Linked DNA regions of Homo sapiens: region 1 is linked to region 2. Evidence: promoter capture Hi-C in 16 types of primary human blood cells and fetal thymus (Javierre and others, 2016). All regions are on one chromosome and are shown on one strand. Each heading gives the region's core, a stretch centred on a gene start or on the middle of the fragment in contact. The rest is flanking DNA. Distances are from core to core; before and after follow the strand shown. Region 1 has its middle 29 kb from the start of LINC01671. Region 2 holds the start of TFF3 (trefoil factor 3).

Region 1 (6,336 bases), core at 3,743-6,242, 270 kb after region 2:
ATAAAAATACATCTTCATTTGAGCATAGCTGAGGTATTTTCCATCTGCAAACAGCCAGCTCTGAGACACACACACTTGCCGTCCTGTGGAAGCGTGGCTCTGCCTGTCACGCACGTCTGCGCTTGCCGTCCTGTGGAAGCGTGGCTCTGCCTGTCACGCACGTCTGCGCTTGCCGTCCTGTGGAAGCGTGGCTCTGCCTGTCACGCACGTGTGCGCTTAGTGCACATCACTAAGACTCTCCTATTCATGTTGACAAAAAAATGCCGGATCATGGAAACACAAGCTGGTGACAGGGCCAACAAAAGAGCTCAAGGTGGGACTCCAGCTCTCCAGCCTGTCTGTAGGTAGGAAAAACTACTCCTGGAAGCTCACCTCAGTGAATGCACCTCAGAGTCCAAGAGCTGCCGCGAATACAGGGCCTGGTGGCTGCTATACTGTGCGTCTCAGAGCAGAGCCAGCTCTCCCATCGCCAGCTTGTAAAATCCAAGAAAACGAAATTGCTTGATAAACTACGAGCTGAAAAAAAATGAGCCCTGATTTATTATTATTCAATTCAACAGACATAAAAACCACTCTGCTAAATGGCCACAGGACCACTCCAGTCTTGACTCAGCAGAGCACAGCTGGGCCAGGTGAGAAGCAGGTGTGAGGGCACTGTGTCCCTTGCAGGCTGTGCCCACAAGGCACCCAGGCTGTCCCCCACAGGGCTCCGATGCGCCAGGTCACCTCCATTCCCAAGGCTCCGCATTGACCCACAGTCTCTGCACAGGACACCCCAGGTCCCTGGAGGGCAGTAGAAGAGGCTGTAGCACTGGCTGCCAAGGCAGGGGCAGCTGCCAGGCCCACCAGAGACCACGGGCAGTAGGCAGGTCACTTCCCAGGGTGGGGGGGGGGCTGAGGTGGGAGCACAACCTAGGCCCCTCCTGGGGAGGTGGTGGAGTCAGAATCACGTAAGAGCCAAAGTTCCAGTCCCTCAGTGCCGGCTCCATTGTCCCCTGGACTTCCCTTACAAACCACAGATGCAAAGAGAGCACTTCTCAGAATCTCCACACAGCCACGGTGGAGCACTCAACCCACGCGACCCTCGGGCGCAGGTGCTGGGTGACTGCCCTGGCCATGTGCCCTGTGGCCCGCAGAATGACACCTCATCCAGGATGGAAGCGGGAACCAAAAGCCTGGCTGAGAGACCCCAGGGGCCTGAGTCGGGAGGAGCGATGGTTCATTTGGAACCCAGTGGTGCCCTTCACTGAGTTTGGGTTAACTGTCATCACTTCCCTGTCCCGTGCGTTCCAACGTGCCCTGCCCCTGAGAACAGATCCAAGGGACTCTGAAGAACGCAGTCCTGAGCTGCTTGCTCATTCTGAAGCCAGCTCTTGTTGCTGGCCCCCTCCAAGGGGGCCTGTGAGCTCCAGACATGGGGATAATGTGGGGTCTGGGCCACCCGTAGTGGTGGCCAAGTGCAGCATGTTCCCCGCCACACCCCTTGGGAGCTGGAATTTAACTCCAGCTGCTGAACACAGGCAGTGTTTCTGGCACCCAGGGCCTCACCCTCCCAGGAGAGTCCATCATTGCTGAGCCAGTCGCAGGTCACCATGAAGCATCGCCCTGGGCAGCAAGTGGGATGCAGGGGCACAGCAGGGCACGTCCCAGGCGGCTGAGAAAGTCCACGGAGGGCAAGGGCAGGGGCGTGCGCCATCGTCGGAGACAGTCGGGGTGGGCAGCACCCTGGACTGCTGGGAAGGACAGTGGGGGGAGGGTGGAAGGCAGGGGAGCCCTTGCCAGTTGAGAATTTCTTGATCCTTGGAATTGGTCCCCAACATCCTCTGGGACACGCTTAACAATGGTCAGGTCTGGTAACTGAAAGAAGCAATTGAGGTAAATATCTCAATCAACCGAGGTTTATTCTGCCAGCGTTAGGGCATGTCCAGGAAAACACAAGCCACAGACACATCTGTGGCTGTTTTTCTAAAGAGGCTTACAAGAGGTTTGGTATTTAGACATTGAGGTGAGGTGAATGGTGACATTCTTGTGAGACTTCAGTTAGCACCCAGTAAATCTGCATTTCACATAAGGTAAATATTTGAAGAAGAAAAGGGAGCAAAGGAGGAATCCATTTTGCAGACTTCTCTGGGTAGGTGGAGGAACACTTGATCTCGTCTTGTCTTTGGCCTGCCCCTGGGAGGACAAGCTTGTAAAGGACATTATCAGCATAGAATGGAACAGACTCTCATTTTAGGAGCTGGACTTACATTGCACACCTAAATTTATGATTGGCATGTCCTTGTTTATGGGAGGCCAGCAAAGAATGTACTGATGAAAGATCTGTGGGAGCACTTGCAGACGGCTGTGGCCTCCACCTTTCTGTGGGGACCTGGCTGATGTATCCTATTCATGACAGCTGTCCATACGGATGCAGCGTTGCATGATTCTCACTCCAGGCTTAATCTTCCCTTTGGCATAAGAAGTTTGGGCATCCTGTGATTTTTACGCCCACAGCCACTTTTTTTTTTTTTTTTTTTTGAGACGGAGTCTCGCTCTGTCACCAGGCTGGAGTGAAGTGGCGCCATCTCAGCTCACTGCAACCTCTGCCTCCTGGGTTCAAGCAGTTCTCATCCCTCAGCCTCCCAAGTGGCTGGGATTACAGGCACGAGCCACCACGCCCAGCTAATTTTTGTATTTTTAGTAGAGACAGGGTTTCACCATGTTGGCCAGGCTGGTCTCAAACTCCTGATCTCATGATCCGACCACCTCGACCTCCCAAAGTGCTGGGATTACAGGCGTCAGCCACCAAGCCCAACCAGCCAGGCCAATTTTTGACCAAAACAGGATCGGTGAGTGGATGTCATGTGTCATTTGGGCCAACAGTGAACACGGACTTTGAAGGCATCTTGATCCAGAATATTCCATTCCCTTCTTCCTTGACTTGGTAATAACCAAGACGGTTCTGTCTCTCTTTGAAATTCTAAAATGAGGCAGGCATTGGACATTCTGTTACTGTTAAAATCCACACCCTGCCTGCCTCTAAAAGGAACTTGGAGTGGAGATGCAGAAAAATGGCAGGTGCGTTTAAGGAGTCCCTGCACCCCACGACGAAGTGACAGCCACACCCAGACATCCTGGAGCCCAAAAGGAGGAGCTAGTGGCTCTGGAGGGGCAGCCTCTCCGGGTCTCAAGGGCTATTATTATTATTTTTTTTTTTTTTTTGGAACTGAGGTGACATTTACATAACATGCAAATAATCATTTCAAAGCATACGGTCGGTGGCGTCTGGCGCATTCACAGTGCTGTGCAGCCACCAGCTCTCTCAAGGTCAACACGTCTCATCACCCCAGAAGATCACTAGAACCTGGTAAGCGATAGCTCCCCTTCCCCTCCCATTTAAAATGAGAGTTTTCAAGGAGATTGGGTCCAGGGTGGCTGTGAGCACTAAAATTCTGGAGCAAGGTGAAAAATAGACCCCACTTCTCCTTCCATGCTAAGCCACTGATTCATTAAAGAAACACAGGGAAGGAGCCTATACTCAAAATTAGCATCTCCAGTGGAAACATGGCTTGAGAATTATGCGTCCTTACGGACCAGAGACCAGGCCTCCAAGAATTCTCCCAGGAAACAAATGTCCAGCAGGACCATGGCTGGGCTGTCACGTCCAGAAGCCACCAGGCCACAGCAGGGGCCCCGGCAGGCAGGCCACCGTCGGAAGCCGGCAGGCCACCGTCGGAAGCCACCAGACCACAGCAGGGGCCCCGGCAGGCAGGCCACGGTCCAGAAGCCACCAGGCCACAGCAGGGGCCCCGGCAGACAGGCCACGGTCCAGAAGCCACCAGGCCACAGCAGGGGCCCTGGCAGGCAGGCCACGGTCCGGAAGCCACCAGGCCACAGGAGGGGCCCCGGCAGGCAGGCCACGGTCGGAAGCCACCAGGCCACAGCAGGGGCCCCCGGCAGGCAGGCCATGGTTGGGGCTGCTTTGGCCTCTCTTTCCCTTTTGCACCAGCTTTCAATAAGGCTTTCTTCTTCCACGTCCCCACGACCCCTTGATCGTCCACCTGCTATTGGCAGCGAAGCCTTGAGGCTCTCATGGTGTGTCCCCACATGTCCGCAGACGGGAAGGAGTCACCCCAGCCTCCTGGGGCAGCAGGATGCAGCATATCTGACTCTCATCACACTTTCTGTATCTCAGCAAGTTACCAACATTTCTTTGTATTTACTTCTGGTAAGAACAAAAACCTTAGCTGGGGCCTTGGCTGCCCTTGGAGCTGCTGGGAAAGTTACATGAGTAGAAGGGTTGGGTTAAAGCATGGAAACACCTCTGTCTACACCAGCTCACGATAAGCCTGAAGAGGAGTTTGGAGTCCCTCAGACGCTTTCGGCACCACTTAGTCAGCGGGGGGAATAATAGCTTTCCGGGAAATAGGCCCGAGACGCGGGAAGGGAAGGGAAGGGAACCCCGTGGGAAAGACCTTACTCATTCTGCCCCTTGCAGTCAGCACCTGAGGAGAAGCAGCGGGGAAAAGAAGTGCCAAGCTCGCCGCGTTGACCAGTGTCAGGGCCGAGTAGCCACAGGACAGAACTGAGAAGCGAGTACCAACATCAAGCCTGCCGCGCCATTTATATCCACGCATGCGTTTCCCCTTACCTGCACCGAGCCTCCCGCCCCGTTTACATCCACGCAGGCGTTTCCCCTTACCTGCACCGAGCCTCCATTCCCGTTTATATCCACGCAGGCGTTTCCCCTTACCTGCACCGAGCCTCCCGCCCCGTTTACATCCACGCAGGCGTTTCCCCTTACCTGCACCGAGCCTCCCGCCCCGTTTACATCCACGCAGGCGTTTCCCCTTACCTGCACCGAGCCTCCCGCCCCGTTTACATCCACGCAGGCGTTTCCCCTTACCTGCACCGAGCCTCCCGCCCCGTTTACATCCACGCAGGCGTTTCCCCTTACCTGCACCGAGCCTCCCGCCCCGTTTACATCCACGCAGGCGTTTCCCCTTACCTACACCGAGCCTCCCGCCCCGTTTACATCCACGCAGGCGTTTCCCCTTACCTGCACCGAGCCTCCCGCCCCGTTTACATCCACGCAGGCGTTTCCCCTTACCTGCACCGAGCCTCCCGCCCCGTTTACATCCACGCAGGCGTTTCCCCTTACCTGCACCGAGCCTGCCGCCCCGTTTACATCCACGCAGGCGTTTCCCCTTACCTGCACCGAGCCTGCCGCCCCGTTTACATCCACGCAGGCGTTTCCCCTTACCTGCACCGAGCCTCCCGCCCCGTTTATATCCACGCAGGCGTTTCCCCTTACCTGCACCGAGCCTCCATTCCCGTTTACATCCACGCAGGCGTTTCCCCTTACCTGCACCGAGCCTCCCGCCCCGTTTACATCCACGCAGGCGTTTCCCCTTACCTGCACCGAGCCTGCCGCCCCGTTTACATCCACGCAGGCGTTTCCCCTTACCTGCACCGAGCCTCCCGCCCCGTTTATATCCACGCAGGCGTTTCCCCTTACCTGCACCGAGCCTCCATTCCCGTTTACATCCACGCAGGCGTTTCCCCTTACCTGCACCGAGCCTCCCGCCCCGTTTACATCCACGCAGGCGTTTCCCCTTACCTGCACCGAGCCTCCATTCCCGTTTACATCCACGCAGGCGTTTCCCCTTACCTGCACCGAGCCTCCATTCCCGTTTATATCCATGCAGGCGTTTCCCCTTACCTGCACCGAGCCTCCCGCCCCGTTTACATCCACGCAGGCGTTTCCCCTTACCTGCACCGAGCCTCCCGCCCCGTTTACATCCACGCAGGCGTTTCCCCTTACCTGCACCGAGCCTCCCGCCCGGTTTACATCCACGCAGGCGTTTCCCCTTACCTGCACCGAGCCTCCCGCCCCGTTTACATCCACGCAGGCGTTTCCCCTTACCTGCACCGAGCCTCCCGCCCCGTTTACATCCACGCAGGCGTTTCCCCTTACCTGCACCGAGCCTCCCGCCCCGTTTACATCCACGCAGGCGTTTCCCCTTACCTGCACCGAGCCTCCATTCCCGTTTATATCCACGCAGGCGTTTCCCCTTACCTGCACCGAGCCTGCCGCCCCGTTTACATCCACGCAGGCGTTGCCCCTTACCTGCACCGAGCCTGCCGCCCCGTTTACATCCACGCAGGCGTTTCCCCTTACCTGCACCGAGCCTCCATTCCCGTTTATATCCACGCAGGCGTTTCCCCTTACCTGCACCGAGCCTCCATTCCCGTTTATATCCACGCAGGCGTTTCCCCTTACCTGCACCGAGCCTCCCGCCCCGTTTACATCCACGCAGGCGTTTCCCCTTACCTGCACCGAGCCTCCATTCC
Region 2 (6,184 bases), core at 82-2,581:
TTTTCACTTTTTTCTGCATCTCCCCTTCCTGAATTGTTGAGCATGTCCCACCCTCCCGGGACATCCTTCAGTCCCCAATATTTTCATGTTTCAGGCAAGCCTCTATGTCTGTATGTGCAGCAGAAGTTCACTGCGTTTCATTAACGAACTGAGTATTTCCTTAGGAAAATGGCAATCACGTGCAGTGTCTTACATTCCCTTCTCTTGCTCCCAGTCCGTAATTGCTTATCCTCCTGGCATCCAAACTTCGCTCACACTGGAATCAGCTGCAGAGCTTTAAAAATGACTGACGTTGGCTGGGCATGGTGGCTTACACCTGTAATTCCAGCACTTTGGGAGGCCAAGGCAGGAGGATCACTTGAGGCCAGGAGTTTGAGACCAGCTTGGCCAACATAGCGAAACTCCATCTCTACTAAAAATCCAAAAAATTAGCTGGGCATGGTGGTGCATGCCTGTAATCCCAGCTACTTGAAGCCGAGGCACAAGAATTGCTTGAACCCAGGAGGCGGAGGTTGCAGTGAGCTGAGATTGTGCCACTGCACTCCAGCAGTGAGTGACAAAGCAAGGCTATCTCAAAACAAAACAGCTGAGGCCTGGATCTTGCCTGGAGATGCCCTGATGTAACTGGTGTGCCCCAAGCATTAGGATTTTTAAAGCTCTCCAGGTGATTCTAATGGGCTGCAAGTTCGGGAACCACTGCCTTTGACCCTGCTCAGAAGACACCCAGATAAAAGCCATGCCCTCATTCCTTCAAACTTGGGTTAATGGAGCAGCCACACCCCATGGCAGGGTTGCTATGCAATGGCTAAATGAACCTTGTGCCTGCCGGTATTGACAGTGTTCTGAAGTCAGGGTTTTTCTCCTGCATCTTTCCTTTTTCTTTGTAAATGTGGAACAATGCATAAAGACCTATATTGTAATTTAGAAATCTCCAGCAAAGATGGCTATGGGGTCATAGGGGATGGGCTCAGGCTCAAACCCTGATTTCAACACAGACTGGGCAGGGCTGCCTTGGATAAGTTGTTAACTTTCTCTGAGCCTCGGTTTCCTTGTCTGTGAAATGGGGACAATAAAGACCCACTTCAAAGGGCTAGCGCAGGAAAAAGTGTATATGTGACAGGTGGCCATTATTAAATGAATGCAGAATCCCCCCTTATCCTGGATCCCTTCCCTTCACGCCCACCCTGCCACCGGGGCAGTCAGGGCAGTACTCACACAGGCCCACGTACTCCTCAGCAGAGCTGGAGGACAGCAAGGCCAGGACCAGCCCCAGCATGCAGAGCGCTCTGGCAGCCATGACCACCGTGGGCTCCGGGACGCAGCTCAGGACTCGCTTCATGGTCCAGGAGGCCTCATTTATGCACCGTTGTTTGCACAGCTGCTCTGGATTGTTTGCTTGGGGAAGGCTCTCCCTCCTGGCTGTGGCTGCTCCTGTTCTCTCCTGCATGCCTTTGTCAAGCTCCCAGACAGTTTTTCTCTCCCAAAGGGGAGAGGTCAGTTCAGCCCCCACTGTTTTGGCAGCAAGCGGTAAGGGCGGATTCCAGTTCTGGTTCCGGGTCCTCTACTGGGGAGCGGATGTGTGTCAATTGCCCTCCTAGCCTGGCCTGGTGTAGTGTGCAGGAGCCATGTGGGGTGGCAGGACCAGGGTGTGGTGTCCGTTCCATCTCAGCCTCCCAGCCAGAAGCCCTCAGAACACCCCTGGTCCCATGACAAGAGAGCCCCAGGCTGCTTCATCCCAGATCGGCCTCGGAGACAGGCAGCTCTGAGTGAGTCAGGACCCTGCGGCTCTCTCACAACTCCTGAAACACAGAGATTCCTTGTCTTTCCTTTTTGCTTTCTCCCCTAAAAATTAGTAACTACATTTTAATAAGTGGATGAAATGAATTGATTGAAAATATGTTAGTAAAAACATGGTACACATAATTGATTTTTAAAATCAAATAATACAAAAGAGCCTTTCCTATCCAGAGGCATCTATTGATCTATTGTGAACACTTTTTTAGGTATCCTTTCAGAATTTTTCTCTCTGGATCTAAGCACGTTTTTTTGGTTTGTTTTTGTTTGTTTGTTTGTTTTGTTTTTTTTTTGTTTTTTTTTTGTTTTTTTTTTTTGGAGACAGGGTCTTGCTCTGTTACCCAGGCTGGAGTGCAGTGGCACAATCTCAACTCACTGAGACCCCCGCCCTCGCGGGGCTCAAGTGATCCTCCCACCTCAGCCTCCTAAGTAGCTGGGCCACAGGCATGTGTCCAGCTAATATTTTGTATTTTTTTAGAGACCAGGTGTCGCCATGTTGGCCAGGCTGGTCTCAGACTCCTGGACTCAAGTGATCTGCCTTCCTTGGCCTCCCAAAGTGTCAGGATTACAGGCATGAGCCACTGCACTCGGCCACATTTTTAACACAAACAGGAACTGACTCTCCACCTTTGCCCAGCGTGCTCTTTTAAAAACTAAAGACTACATCTCAGGAATTGTTTTATAACAACATATCAGATGAGACAGCGATGATTCTATCCATTTTCCAGAGGAAGAAACTAAGACTCAACATTTCCGGTGCCTATCAGAGGTTACTCCAGTGTCCCTGGTATAGCTGGTATTTAACCCACTCCCAGGACCCTAAGCCTCCGCCCTCGGCATCCGCAGCATCCCCCAACCCCCCAACCTCCTGCAGTGGACTGGCTGGTAGTGGGCAAGAGACTAATCTCATTCCAGGAAAACGGGCCCCTAGATTTTGTGTTCTCCGTGTTTCTTTTCCAGGGAGGCATTTTGATGACCCCCACTGGCCCTTCCAGGAGCCTCTGTCTGAAGGGTGGACTTGGTTTATCACCCCGAGAAATGGGAGCGCCTGGCTGCTTGGATTTAGCCTGCAGCTGGGGTCCCCGGTGGTGTGTGCAGGGCGGCCTTGAGCCTCCAAGGGTGCATCCACAAACTGCCCTTCCCCGAGTGACCCATGGGAGCTCGATGGCGTACGTGCTGAGCACCAGGATGTGTCCTGCCCTGTGACTCCCAGGCCCCGCCCTTGCGCTCAGCACGCCCTTTGTGGATGGATTTGAGGGCCCCTGGCCTCTGATGTGCCACTCCCGCTGAGGCCAGCGAAGGAGGAAGAAGGAAAGAGCGTTGCCTGCCTTGTTTTCGGGGCACTCACTTTTTCTGGGAGACAGCGGACCCAGGTTCATCAATGGACAGCAGGATTTTCATGTTATTAAAAAGGTCATTGTAGGGGAAATCCCTGGGGGATCTGGTGAGATCTCCCTGGGGGATCTGGTGAGATCTCCCTGCCTTCCCACTGCTCCTAGTACCCAGAGGCCAGGCCAGGTCGTGGTGCAGGGCTGAGTTCCAGGAGGGTGCAAACACCCCAGGAACAGACTGCTGCCCCTCCGGCCCTCATGACCTGCTGGGGAAGGACCCCCGCAAGGAGCTTCTGCAGGTGCTGTGGTCTCCACCTGCTGCACTCAAAATTGCCTGGAGTGGGGAGAATATCAATGCCTGGGCCCCGCCCTGACAGGTGGTTCTGTCGCCTGTGATTCTTCTCTGCGGCCAGCACCGAGAACCCTGCTGGGGTTTGCTTCCGTTTAACTAGTGAATGTTGACTGAGCTCCTACTGCCTACACCCAGGGTTTAGGGCTGGGGAAGGAATAACAAAGGTGACACATTCTTGTCCTTGAAGAGTCCCCCCGCAAAGGGAGACGGGATCATGTCAGAGTTAAGATGGTGAAGCCAAGACTAGGTTCTGTGCTGCCTGACCTTGGGCAAGTCACGTCCCATCTGTACCTCAGTTTCCCTACATGTCACAGGGTGCTCACCCCACAGGACAGCATGAAGTGGTGCTGCACAGCCCAGCCAGGTGCCTGGGACACACACTGACCACCTGCCGGGTGTGCTGGATCAACCATGATGGCAGAGGAGAGGATTCCTGGTCCCGGCTCTGGTAGGAGCAAAGGCTGTGGCAAGGGGGCCAGAGCTGGGTCCTGTCAGGTGGAGACGCACAGGCTTCTCAGAGAAGGGGGATTTGGGCTGCACCTCTGGAGAGGTCAATGGGGAGGCCCGTGTGTGTCCCCTCTCTCTGTTCTAGGAGCCCCCTCCCCAGGAGCCCTGGGCTCTGTACAGGAACAGAGGATGGCATGGGAGAGCCCAACCTGCCTTCCAGAGCCTGCATTCCCACAGCCTTCCCCAGCCACCCTATTCCCCTGGGGGAGTTCCAGTTCCAGAGAAAAAGCAGAGCTGTTGTCAGAGCTGTAGGCCGTGCGGTAGTGGGCATCGGGCCCAACCCAGACAGGTGGCTCCCCTGGGCAACCCAAGACCTGGGGGTGAGCAGGACTGGCTCTAAAGGAGCCTCTCCCTTTCCTCCTTGGGAGCCGCATCCCGCATCCCTGCAGCAGCCTCGTCAGCTGTGTGCGGTGTGGCGGTGTGGGCCGTCCCAGGAGCCCTGCAAATCCCTCCCACCCTGGGCCTTGTGCAGGGGCTCCTGGATGGATCCAAGAAGAAGACAGTCTGCTCCCCCATGCCGGGGCTGCAACCTTTCACCTCCCGGATGCGTGGTCATTGTCACGTGCATATAACAAGCACAAGCTGAGCATGGGTCCCAGGTCAGGCACTCGGCCTGCAGATGTGGGAGCCCCAGAACATCAGGCAGAGCCCGTGCCCTCAGAGCTCACAGGCTGGTGAGGAGGAACAAGCCTTCAAGCATGAATTGTGGTGCAGTATGATTAGAGCTGGCAGAGTGGGGTGAAATCTGACTAGGTCTTGAGGGATGAGTACAAGTTCACCAGATGGGAGGGGTGAAGGTCAGAGGGGCACATTTCATTTTATTTTATCTTATCTTATTTTATTTTATGTTATGTTAAGTTATTTTATTTTATTTTATTTTATTTTGAGACAGGGTTTCTCTCCCATCACCCAGGCTGGAGTACAGTGGTTCAACCTCAGCTCACTACAGCCTACACCTCCCAGGCTTAAACGATCCTCCTCCCTCAGCCTCCCGAGTAGCTGGGATTACAGGTGCATGCCACCACACTTGGCTAATTTTTGTATTTTTAGTAGAGACAGGGTTTCACCATGTTGGCCAAGCTGGTCTCGAACTCCTGACTTCAGGCAACCCATCTCTCTTGGCCTCCCAAAGTGCTAGGATTACAGGTGCACGCCACCATGCCCGGCTAATTTTTGTATTTTTAGTAGAGCTGAGGTTTCACCATGTTGGCCAGGCTGGTCTCAAACTCCTAACCTCAAGTGATTTGCCTGCCTCAGCCTCCCAAAGTGCAGAGGGGCAGGTAAGGCCATAACACTGCCTACTTTGCACTAACTCACTGCCCCACAGAAAACTCAGAGTTGATGTGGCACATGCAGGTTATAGGGTCTGCATCACCGCTCAGTTTTCTGGTATTGTCACTCGATTACTCAAGCAGCAGACAGTCCGAGGGAGGAAGGAAGTAGGAAGTTGTGCTAATCAGCACCCGTGGGTGGCCCAGGGCCGCACACCTCCCAGGAGCACCCTGCTGCCCAGCTGTCTCTCGGTCTGCAGCTGCCATGGGTGCCGCCCCTCACTCTGCACAGAACTTCCTCCTGCCTCCCTGAGAGAGGCTCGAAGACCCTTCCTGAGTCATCACGACCTGAATGTAGGTGCTTTGGGGAGGCAAACGCAGTGACCCATTCAAGGATGCTTCTGTCTTGACACATAGTCCACTGAGGACAAATGGGGGTGGGGACCAGGAGCAGAGCAAATGCCACCACCACGTGTAAAACAGGAAGGTCAGAACGCAGAGCAGCCCAGTGGGCTCGGAAGGGGGCATGGGCTCCAGGGTTCCCTTGTGCAGCTCAAGGAGCACTTGGTGCTGTTTCAGCCACTCGTCTTGAGAAGCAGCCACAGAGCCCTCTAAACCCAGAGCGTCTGTGGGTTTGGGACCGTTGCATCAGCCCCACGTGCAAGGGACAGGAAAGGTTCCCAGAAAGGCATGGACTGACGGCCAGAAATAATGCAGCTGACCGCGGTGGACAGGAGCACCTCACCCGCAGCCCCACCTGCTGGGCCCAGATGGGCCCTTCCCCAGCAGCCAGACCTGCTCTACCAGGAAGCAGAGCCTGAGAGGAGGGTGCAAGGCCCTCACCCAGGCACCGGAGGCACCGTGTCACCTCACCTTCCGTGTGATGCACTCCAGTCTGCAGTCCTGCACTGAGCCAGTCCTGGGCCGAC

The links. Contacts are between HindIII fragments. The CHiCAGO score rates a contact against its expected background, and 5 or more counts as called.
Region 1: a contact is called between a fragment that was not itself captured here and the fragment with the promoter of TFF3 in region 2, in 1 of 17 cell types (non-activated CD4 T cells). The highest score is 5.2, in non-activated CD4 T cells.

What each region holds. Positions count from the first base shown.
Region 1 is chr21:42,582,843-42,589,178 of GRCh38, forward strand. No RefSeq gene overlaps it. Among named protein-coding and RNA genes, the nearest start is that of LINC01671, 29 kb to the right of the region's middle. RefSeq lists a silencer at 3,798-3,847. The HindIII fragment of the contact is 5,612 bases long and covers 2,187-6,336 here.
Region 2 is chr21:42,314,078-42,320,261 of GRCh38, forward strand. TFF3 (trefoil factor 3) reads right to left here and starts at 1,332. Exons shown (of 3, transcript NM_003226.4): 1 at 1,216-1,332. The coding sequence starts at 1,297. RefSeq lists enhancers at 2,432-3,051, 3,052-3,670, 5,925-6,184. The HindIII fragment of the contact is 10,232 bases long and covers 1-6,184 here.